Regions from separate parts of the Homo sapiens genome. Here region 2 is linked to region 1. The links are contacts of gene promoters, found by promoter capture Hi-C in blood cells and fetal thymus (Javierre and others, 2016). All regions are on one chromosome and are shown on one strand. Each heading gives the region's core, a stretch centred on a gene start or on the middle of the fragment in contact. The rest is flanking DNA. Distances are from core to core; before and after follow the strand shown.

Region 1 (4,573 bases), core at 1,025-3,524:
CTTGTGATCATGACTGGCATAACCTGCACCCTTCTGCAGAAGTAAATTTCTCTTGCTGAGGAATTTTCTGCCTTTGTGCTGGTTTTCTCTGCGGCACCAGGCACTTGTTTCTAACAGCAAGAAAAACAGAAGTATTGGTACACAAAACAACACGGAAGGATCTCAATTGCATTGTGTTAAGTAAAAGATACCAGATTCAAAGACTGCATATTGTATGATTCCATTTATATAATATTCTAAAAAAGGCAAACATACAGGCCCAAAGACTAGATAGTGGCTGCAAGAGGCTAAGAGTGGTTAGAGAATCTGACTTTCAAAAGGTAGCATGGAGGAATTTTATTGACAGGTGAAATAATTTTGTATCTTGCTTGTGGTGGTGGTTACACAAATCTGTGCGTTTGTCAAAACTCATAAAATTATGCAACAAATAAAGTGAACTTTTCAGTATATAAAGCATAAATTTAAAAATGTAAATTTCAATATGTTTCACATATTTTTACTCAAATATTTGCATTTCCTTTTTTCTTTTTTTCTTTTTTGAGATGCAGTCTCACTCTGTCACCAGGCTGGAGTGTAGTAGTGCGATCTTGGCTCACTGCAACCTCCACCTCCCGGGTTCAAGCGATTCTCCTGCCTCAGCCTCCTGACTAGCTGGGACTACAGGTGCGCACCACCACGTCCAGCTAATTTTTGTATTTTTAGTACAGAAGGGGTTTCACCATTTTGGGCAGGATGTTCTCAATGTCTTGACCTCATGATCTGCCCGCCTCAGCCTCCCAAAATGCTGGGACTACAGGCGTGAGCTGCCATGCCCGGCCATATTTGCATTTCTTTCAATTCTCATAATGGACTTAAAAAGTTTTGCTGGAATGGAGCTGCTTATTTTTCTCTATTATAAAATGTAACTGATATTAAATTTATAGTTTCTGTCTTTGGTATCACATCCCTTTTTGGTTTTTTTTGAGACAAAGTCTCACTTTGTCACCCAGGCTGGAGTGCAGTGGTGCCATGATGGCTTACTGCAACCTGGGGCTCAAGTGATCGTCCAACCTCAGCCTCCTGAGTAGCTGGGATCACAGGCGCCTGCCTACATGCCCAGCTAATTGTTATTTTTAATTTTTTGTAGAGACAGGGGTCCCACTATAACGCCCAGGCTGGTCTTGGACTCTAAGGATCAAGTGGTCCTCCTGCCTCCACCTCCCAAACTGCTGGGATTACAGGTGTGGGCCACTGTGCCTGGCCCACATGTCAATTTTCAAAAATTTATACTCGTTTAAATGTTTCAATACTGTATACATGTGAATTTTATCACGTGTGATCTATATATATCTCTATATTCCAAATTGTTAGGAATGACATGCTCTTTGGAATACTCCATTCTTTCCCTCACTGTTTTGAAATGCTGTATTTACTACACATTAAAGAATACTCTCAATCATGGTGTCTTATTTCCATGGAGCAGGTGCCAAACTACTTTGAATAGAGCAATATTATATATATAGATAGATATAGATATTTCTCAGGCATTTTTTCAAGCTTTTTAAAACGTATAATGGCTGTTCATTTAGTTTTTTACTTACTCTGGATAAAGTTGACAATGCTTTTGTAAAGTACACAATACACTAAAGATCAAAGAGAAAAAATACATAAAAAAATTTGTTGATATTCTTTTAGGAATTTTGTCTTCCTAAGAAAGGTACAGATAGACTAAATGTATTTCCATTTAGTCAAGCAATTTTAATGTCACAGGGGAAATCATGTGACATTTATTTTCTTCTTTCGGATTATGTCTATTTTCTGACTTTTCAATTTCCGTTTATTGCGTTAACGATTTTGATGAAGTAGCTTTCCTGTGGCACCTCCCCCATCCCCCCCATCCCTGCTCTCAAAGAATCGCTGATAGTGTCAAAGTCTTTTAAACTGTATCAATAAGATCTACTTCCTAACATTTAAAGTGAAACTGACACACAGCTGTCCTTTCCTTGAGGCGTCTGTGTCTAACCTGCACACTTGCTGCACACAGACCTCCCCTGCAGTGCATCCCTTTGGGTCGCCCCGGGAGAGCCAGGGCTGCGGGCAGTTCCCACACCAACTCAGACCGCATCTGTCCACTGCCTAGCGGGGCACCTCTCTGCCAATCCCGAAGGGCTGCTCTCGCGTCCTCACGGGAAAGGTAGTTTCCAGGTTGGGCGCCAACAGCGCCAGGCTTTGAGCGTGGGCTCTGCGCATGCCTCATCCACTGGCTACCTCTGCGTTTCTGCGTTTCCGCCTTTCCTTTTGTTTGTCTCACGTTTTGCGTGGGAGGCGGTCCCGGGATTTCAGGGGTCTACCGGCTCTCTTATGGCGAATGCAACCCGAAGAGAGAGTGAGGTAAGCCTCCGCGGGTTGGGCAGGGACGGAGAGGGGGCCCCGCGCGACTCCAGGAGCAGGCAGCCGGGGGCCAGTGCCAGGTGGTGGCGAGGAGTCCCGGGGACCTCACGGAGAAGCCGGGGACGGCGGGGCTGCAGCATGTCTACCAGGACGCTACGCCAGTTCCTCTAAGGCGCAGCCTCTGTAGGGAGCGGGCTACGCCCTGTGCGTTGCCCTGTTTGTAGGGGCCGCGGAGGAGGGCATGTGCGCTTGCGCGGTCCGAGCGCTGAGCCTTGCGGGAGGGGCAGTTCTCTGGTTGAGCGTGTTTACGCCCATGTGCTAGGGCGCGGCCCTACCTGGGTAGGAAAGGGCGGGTGCAGTCGCCCGCCCGACATACGGACTCTGTTGCCCGTTCTGCGTTCATCCTCTTTAGGTTTCGAACTGCCCTCCAGTCATGTCCATCACCCCATCTTGTTATTTGCTGTTCCTCTGTCCTAACTTGATCTTGCACTCAGGAAGGATCTTCAAGAATTACATAATTTTGGCCTAGCGCGGTGGCTCTCTCCTGTAATCCTGCACTTTGGGAGGCCGAGGAGGGTGGATCACCTGAGGTCAGGAATTCGAGACCAGCCTGACCAACATGGCAAATCCCCGTCTCTACTAAAAATACTAAAAGTAGCCATGCGTGGTGGCCTATGACTGTAATCCCAGCTACTGAGGCAGAGAAATGCTTGAACCCGGGAGGCGGAGGTTGCAGGTAGCTGAGATTGCACCATTGCACTCCAGACTGGGCAACAAGAACGAAACTCCGTCTCAAAAACAAACAAACAAACAAAAAACCAGAATTACCTAATTTTGCCTCATTTGTTAGAAGAAAAAATAATTTTTTTGTTTTTTGTTTGTCAAGGTTACTGACTTGTTCAGGATCAAAGTTTGTTAGTAGGGAGAACTAAAAGTCACTTCTCCTGACCCCTAAGCCAGTACTACTTTTCTACACACATCAAAGCAAGTTTAAAACATCCTTTTGAGAAATAGCAACAAAGTTAGATGAAGAAATTAAAACGGATTTTTTCTTTGAAGCACTGACGCTTATGGTTTTCTGTGGACTAACTCATCAGAGGTTAAGTAACATTACTGGGAAAATCGATAGCCTAGTCCTATTCTTTACAATGGTTTTAGTGTTAATGTTTTTTCATTAAATGTATTGTTAACTTGTTTGGCCAATATTGTCATTATACATTTTTTGTGAAGACTGAGGGAGATTGAAATCCTTAGGAAGCAAATATTTACTTTCACCTGATGAAAAATCTTGTGCCCAAGAGCTACATGGTTATGTTGGAGTTGTATTAGGGTGTTCTTTCACCATTTCTACCCCCTATTCCGAAGTGTCAGAGGACATTGATATTCTCCCAGACGGAGCATTTTACCTAGTGGGTGTGTATGGCTTCTTAGGGCAGAAGAATCCGGGAGTTGCCAGGCAGGCCAAATCTTTCATGACCCCATTCCTCTTTTTCCAACTCAGCTGTATCTTCAGAGTTGTCTCCGTCTTTCCAAGAACAGAACAAAATGAACAAGGTAAGTTGTTTATTAATTCCCTACTTTATTTTGCGGTGGACTTTGTGAGATTTGTAAGAGTCAGTATGGTTTTTTTGTTTTGTTTTGTTTGTGACATGGAGTCTCGCTCTGTCGCCCAGGCTGGAGCGCAGTGTCTCCATCTCTGTTCACTGCAACCTTGCAACCTCTGCCTCCTGGGTTCAAGCAATTCACCTGCCTCAGCCTCCCGATTGGCTGGGACTACAGGCGCAGGCCGCCACGCCTGGCTAATTTTTTGCATTTTAATAGAGATGTGTTCACCGTGTTGCCCTGGCTGGTCGCAAACTCCTGAGCTCAGGCAATCCGCCCGCCTCGGCCTCCCAAAGTGTTGGGATTACAAGTGTGAGCCACCGTGCCTGGCCAAGAGTCAATATGTTAAGATGAGAAATTAGTAATAGATAAAAATTGAACTTCCCAGAAAATATAAAGTAACAGATCAATAGCAGGGCCAAGTTAGAGTCAATAAGTTGAGCTTCATGTGTTTCTTATGTTTCCAACAACCATGGCAGAAAGGAAGACACTGGATATGGATACAGACAAACTGACTCCTCTGAAGACACAAAGACTTCCTGGCAGATACCTTTTTTGGTTATAACATAGGGACCCATAGTGAATAACCTTCCAGTGTTAG
Region 2 (4,668 bases), core at 770-3,269, 7.0 Mb after region 1:
GTGGGAAGGAAGTGTTGTTTTTCAGTATAAAGAGGTTCAACTCTATAGACTAAAACTAAAAAAGTTAAAAAGATAGGGGGGTATAACTATAGATTGGTGGATATGCCTAGAACACAGAACTTGCCAAAAACGGGGCGCTGGGGCAGGGTGCGGTCTGACAGTCTACTTGTAATATGTTTCATAATGAGGTTGCTAACTGAGCTACAGAAAGCAGGAGGAGGAAGACATAGATGCCATCAGCTCAAGCAATCTACAAATACTGCTGGTTATTTTTGTTTTATGACAAGAGTTGTTTCTGAACGGACAACCACGAGCTACCACCACCACCAGCAGCGCCCCGAAAACCGGAACTGGCCTCAAATGTACTTTTAATTCTTTTGCTCTGTCCCCACGCCCTCTGCAACTTTTGTTCTCCAACTGTACTTGTTCCGGTATGAAACCTGGCAAATAGCAAAAATCTTGAAACAAGAAGAGAGTGAGAGAGCGGAGAGAAAAGGGAGGGAAGGAAGGAGAGGGAGGAGGGGAAGAGGAGGAGGGGGGAGAGAAAGTGGTGGGGGAGAGAGAGAAGGAAAGGAGGTGGGGAGAGAGAGAGAGGGAAGACAGAAGAGAGGCAGGGAGGAAGAGGGAGAGAGGGGGACGGAGATGGGGAGGAGGCGGGAGGGAGGGAGAGAAAGAGAGAGAGAAACATATTCTGCCACCCTCCTGGCTAACTGAAATGCTTGTTCCCGAGATTACAGTAATTACTGCCCCAGCATGAGTTCCATACAAGCGCTAAATGAAACAGCACATCAATTAAAAAATAAACACTCCATTCTAGGAGAAAGACAGCCCCCTGGGACGCCCTAACAAGCGTAAATGAACCTGCCAGGCCGCCGGCCCGGGCCGCCCGCAGCCCCCCTCCCGGCCCGTCTTAAGGTGGCGGCGGAGCCGGCGGGGGCAGCGTTCGCTGGCGGTGGCCCAAGCGGCTGCTAAAAGCAGCCCGGGTCCGGCTCCGGCCTCGTGCAGAGAGCAGATACGTGTCGCGGAGTCCACGCCAGAGCGCAGCGCCGCCTCCCACCAGAGAAAAGGAGGCTCTGGCAAAAGCCTGTGAACTTGGGATGGATGAATAGACGTCCTGAAAGAACGAAGGGAAGACAGGGAATCCAGCCCCAGAGTTTCCAGCCTGTCCTATTTATAAGTTTCGAGGTTTGTTTTGAATTTTAGAAAGAAATTGAATGATTTTTCCTAAGAAAGCACGGCGGCTCGGGGCTTCCTATATTTTATCTCACCTAATTATCAAAGCCCCCTTGGAGATCTGTGCTATGATCACCCAACTCTCTAGGTGGGGAAACTGAGGCTCCCCCAGGTCACGCAGCGGAGGCGGGAGGAGAGTCTCTGGCGGGCATTTGTCCCCCGCGCCCCTCGCGCGCCCAAGGCTGGGCTCCGGGGCATCTCACCCGGGCCGTCCCGGGTCCAGCCCCAGTTTAGAATGACTCCACACCCCCCACATCTCCAAGTCTCAGAAACCATCGTTCTGAGAACCCCAAGGAGGACACCCTTTCCCGGGTCTTCTGCAGCGCCGAGCCCCGGCAGGCCTCCCCGGCGCTCGCCTGCTGCGAGACCTTCCTGCCGCCCCGAGGAGCACGAGACCCCAGCCGCCTGCAGATCACCCACATTTGCGGAGGGTGGCAGCAGGGGCTTGGCTGGTTTGAAACGCGCCGGGGAGGCGCGCGCTGCACCAAACCCCGTCCCTGTCCCCAAGGGCAGACTCGGGGTAAGGGGACCAAGACCTCCGACGCACTCAGCGCCATGGGGACAGCCATGGCCAACACTCTGTCTCTGCGGTCAATCCCAAGGTTACCAAAACTCTCCATCCGCAGAGAGCGCGCACAGCAGTGCGGACACTCGGGGACTGCCTTAAGGAAGGCTGAGCCCTGGGAGCGCGTGGACTCCGCCCTACCGCCCGGCGATTGGCTCGCGGGGCTGGGGGCGGAGACCGAGTCCGCGCTGTATAAATATTCATGAGCCGGCAGCGCGGCGCGAGCGGGGCTGGAGCCGGGAAGTTGGGCTAAGGGCGCTGCTCCCGCCGAGGAGGAGGCGGCGGCTGGGCGCGGGCCGCGCCACTCAGGTGTCCGCTCCGCCTTCCGGTCTGGATTTGCTCCTGGGTGTCCAGCAGGAAGGAGACTGTGTGCACCTCGCCCGACTGCGGCCGGAGCGCGGCGCTGACTTTTCCAGGCGGCGGGGGTCCGTCTGTCCCGGCGGCGGACGGACGAAGGACGGACGCCGGAGAAAGAGGGCGGCGGCCTGGGCCGAGGCGGGTCCCCAACTCCGGCGGCGGCGGCGGCGGCTTGGCCTTGGGGGCGGGCATGAGCCCCCGGGGGCCGAGTGGTGGCCGCCAGGGCTGACCCGGCGCGGCAAGCGGCCCGGCCCAGCCATCTTGACTGCGCACCGCGGCCCCAGAGGAAACTTGCGGCGCCTCCGCCCTCTCTGTCCGGCGGAGTCACCGCCGCCCGGCGCGGCGGGGAGAAGTGGTCGGGCGCGCGGAGAGGAGGCGAGCGAGCGCGGGACGATGAGCCGAGGCCCGGCCGCTCTGCGCCGCGAGGGCTGAGCGCGACCCGGGGCCAGCAGAGCGGACCTACGGACTGTGGCGCGCGCCTGCAGCCGCCTTCAAACCCCCGGAGCGGCGGAAAGGAGTGCGGAAGGGCCCTGCCCAGGCTGCGGGCCGCGCCGCTGCGGACGCGCCCCTAGAAGGGGTTAGATTATCGGCAGACCCCCCTCCCGGGCGAAGCATAAGGGAGACCCCAGATCACCCGCTGTACCCGTCTGCGGCTCTCTCGTGGGCCCCCCCCCCGGCACCCCTCTGCGCGCCGCCTGGAGGGCGAGGGCACCGGGCCGAGGCGCACAGCATGGAGTGGGGTTACCTGTTGGAAGTGACCTCGCTGCTGGCCGCCTTGGCGCTGCTGCAGCGCTCTAGCGGCGCTGCGGCCGCCTCGGCCAAGGAGCTGGCATGCCAAGAGATCACCGTGCCGCTGTGTAAGGGCATCGGCTACAACTACACCTACATGCCCAATCAGTTCAACCACGACACGCAAGACGAGGCGGGCCTGGAGGTGCACCAGTTCTGGCCGCTGGTGGAGATCCAGTGCTCGCCCGATCTCAAGTTCTTCCTGTGCAGCATGTACACGCCCATCTGCCTAGAGGACTACAAGAAGCCGCTGCCGCCCTGCCGCTCGGTGTGCGAGCGCGCCAAGGCCGGCTGCGCGCCGCTCATGCGCCAGTACGGCTTCGCCTGGCCCGACCGCATGCGCTGCGACCGGCTGCCCGAGCAAGGCAACCCTGACACGCTGTGCATGGACTACAACCGCACCGACCTAACCACCGCCGCGCCCAGCCCGCCGCGCCGCCTGCCGCCGCCGCCGCCCGGCGAGCAGCCGCCTTCGGGCAGCGGCCACGGCCGCCCGCCGGGGGCCAGGCCCCCGCACCGCGGCGGCGGCAGGGGCGGTGGCGGCGGGGACGCGGCGGCGCCCCCAGCTCGCGGCGGCGGCGGTGGCGGGAAGGCGCGGCCCCCTGGCGGCGGCGCGGCTCCCTGCGAGCCCGGGTGCCAGTGCCGCGCGCCTATGGTGAGCGTGTCCAGCGAGCGCCACCCGCTCTACAACCGCGTCAAGACAGGCCAGATCGCTAACTGCGCGCTGCCCTGCCACAACCCCTTTTTCAGCCAGGACGAGCGCGCCTTCACCGTCTTCTGGATCGGCCTGTGGTCGGTGCTCTGCTTCGTGTCCACCTTCGCCACCGTCTCCACCTTCCTTATCGACATGGAGCGCTTCAAGTACCCGGAGCGGCCCATTATCTTCCTCTCGGCCTGCTACCTCTTCGTGTCGGTGGGCTACCTAGTGCGCCTGGTGGCGGGCCACGAGAAGGTGGCGTGCAGCGGTGGCGCGCCGGGCGCGGGGGGCGCTGGGGGCGCGGGCGGCGCGGCGGCGGGCGCGGGCGCGGCGGGCGCGGGCGCGGGCGGCCCGGGCGGGCGCGGCGAGTACGAGGAGCTGGGCGCGGTGGAGCAGCACGTGCGCTACGAGACCACCGGCCCCGCGCTGTGCACCGTGGTCTTCTTGCTGGTCTACTTCTTCGGCATGGCCAGCTCCATCTGGTGGGTGATCTTGTCGCTCACATGGTTCCTGGCGGCCGGTATGAAGTGGGGCAACGAAGCCATCGCCGGCTACTCGCAGTACTTCCACCTGGCCGCGTGGCTTGTGCCCAGCGTCAAGTCCATCGCGGTGCTGGCGCTCAGCTCGGTGGACGGCGACCCGGTGGCGGGCATCTGCTACGTGGGCAACCAGAGCCTGGACAACCTGCGCGGCTTCGTGCTGGCGCCGCTGGTCATCTACCTCTTCATCGGCACCATGTTCCTGCTGGCCGGCTTCGTGTCCCTCTTCCGCATCCGCTCGGTCATCAAGCAACAGGACGGCCCCACCAAGACGCACAAGCTGGAGAAGCTGATGATCCGCCTGGGCCTGTTCACCGTGCTCTACACCGTGCCCGCCGCGGTGGTGGTCGCCTGCCTCTTCTACGAGCAGCACAACCGCCCGCGCTGGGAGGCCACGCACAACTGCCCGTGCCTGCGGGACCTGCAGCCCGACCAGGCACGCAGGCCCGACTACGCCGTCTTCATGCTCAAGTACTTCATGTGCCTAG

The links. Contacts are between HindIII fragments. The CHiCAGO score rates a contact against its expected background, and 5 or more counts as called.
Region 2: the fragment with the promoter of FZD8 here is called in contact with the fragment with the promoter of ZNF33B in region 1 in 1 of 17 cell types (total B cells); the score reaches 5.6 in total B cells.

Annotation. Positions count from the first base shown.
Region 1 is chr10:42,636,271-42,640,843 of GRCh38, reverse strand. It overlaps ZNF33B (zinc finger protein 33B), which reads left to right and starts at 2,274. Exons shown (of 5, transcript NM_006955.3): 1 at 2,274-2,370; 2 at 3,872-3,924. The coding sequence starts at 3,916. LOC105378268 (a long non-coding RNA gene) reads right to left here and starts at 2,539. Exons shown (of 2, transcript XR_945898.3): 1 at 2,291-2,539. RefSeq lists a silencer at 2,355-2,524 and enhancers at 2,715-2,984, 2,644-3,512. The HindIII fragment of the contact is 7,213 bases long and covers 1,539-4,573 here.
Region 2 is chr10:35,639,647-35,644,314 of GRCh38, reverse strand. FZD8 (frizzled class receptor 8) reads left to right here and starts at 2,019. Exons shown (of 1, transcript NM_031866.3): 1 at 2,019-4,668. The coding sequence starts at 2,886. LOC124902528 (zinc finger protein 469-like) reads left to right here and starts at 1,469. Exons shown (of 2, transcript XM_047426128.1): 1 at 1,469-1,685; 2 at 1,902-2,587. The coding sequence starts at 1,469. The coding sequence ends at 2,587. MIR4683 (microRNA 4683) reads left to right here and starts at 3,063; the gene lies at 3,063-3,143. It overlaps LOC105376494 (a long non-coding RNA gene), which reads right to left and starts at 1,000. Exons shown (of 2, transcript XR_930820.3): 1 at 1-1,000. RefSeq lists silencers at 3,471-3,560, 4,100-4,394 and enhancers at 3,671-3,830, 4,650-4,668. The HindIII fragment of the contact is 11,239 bases long and covers 1-4,668 here.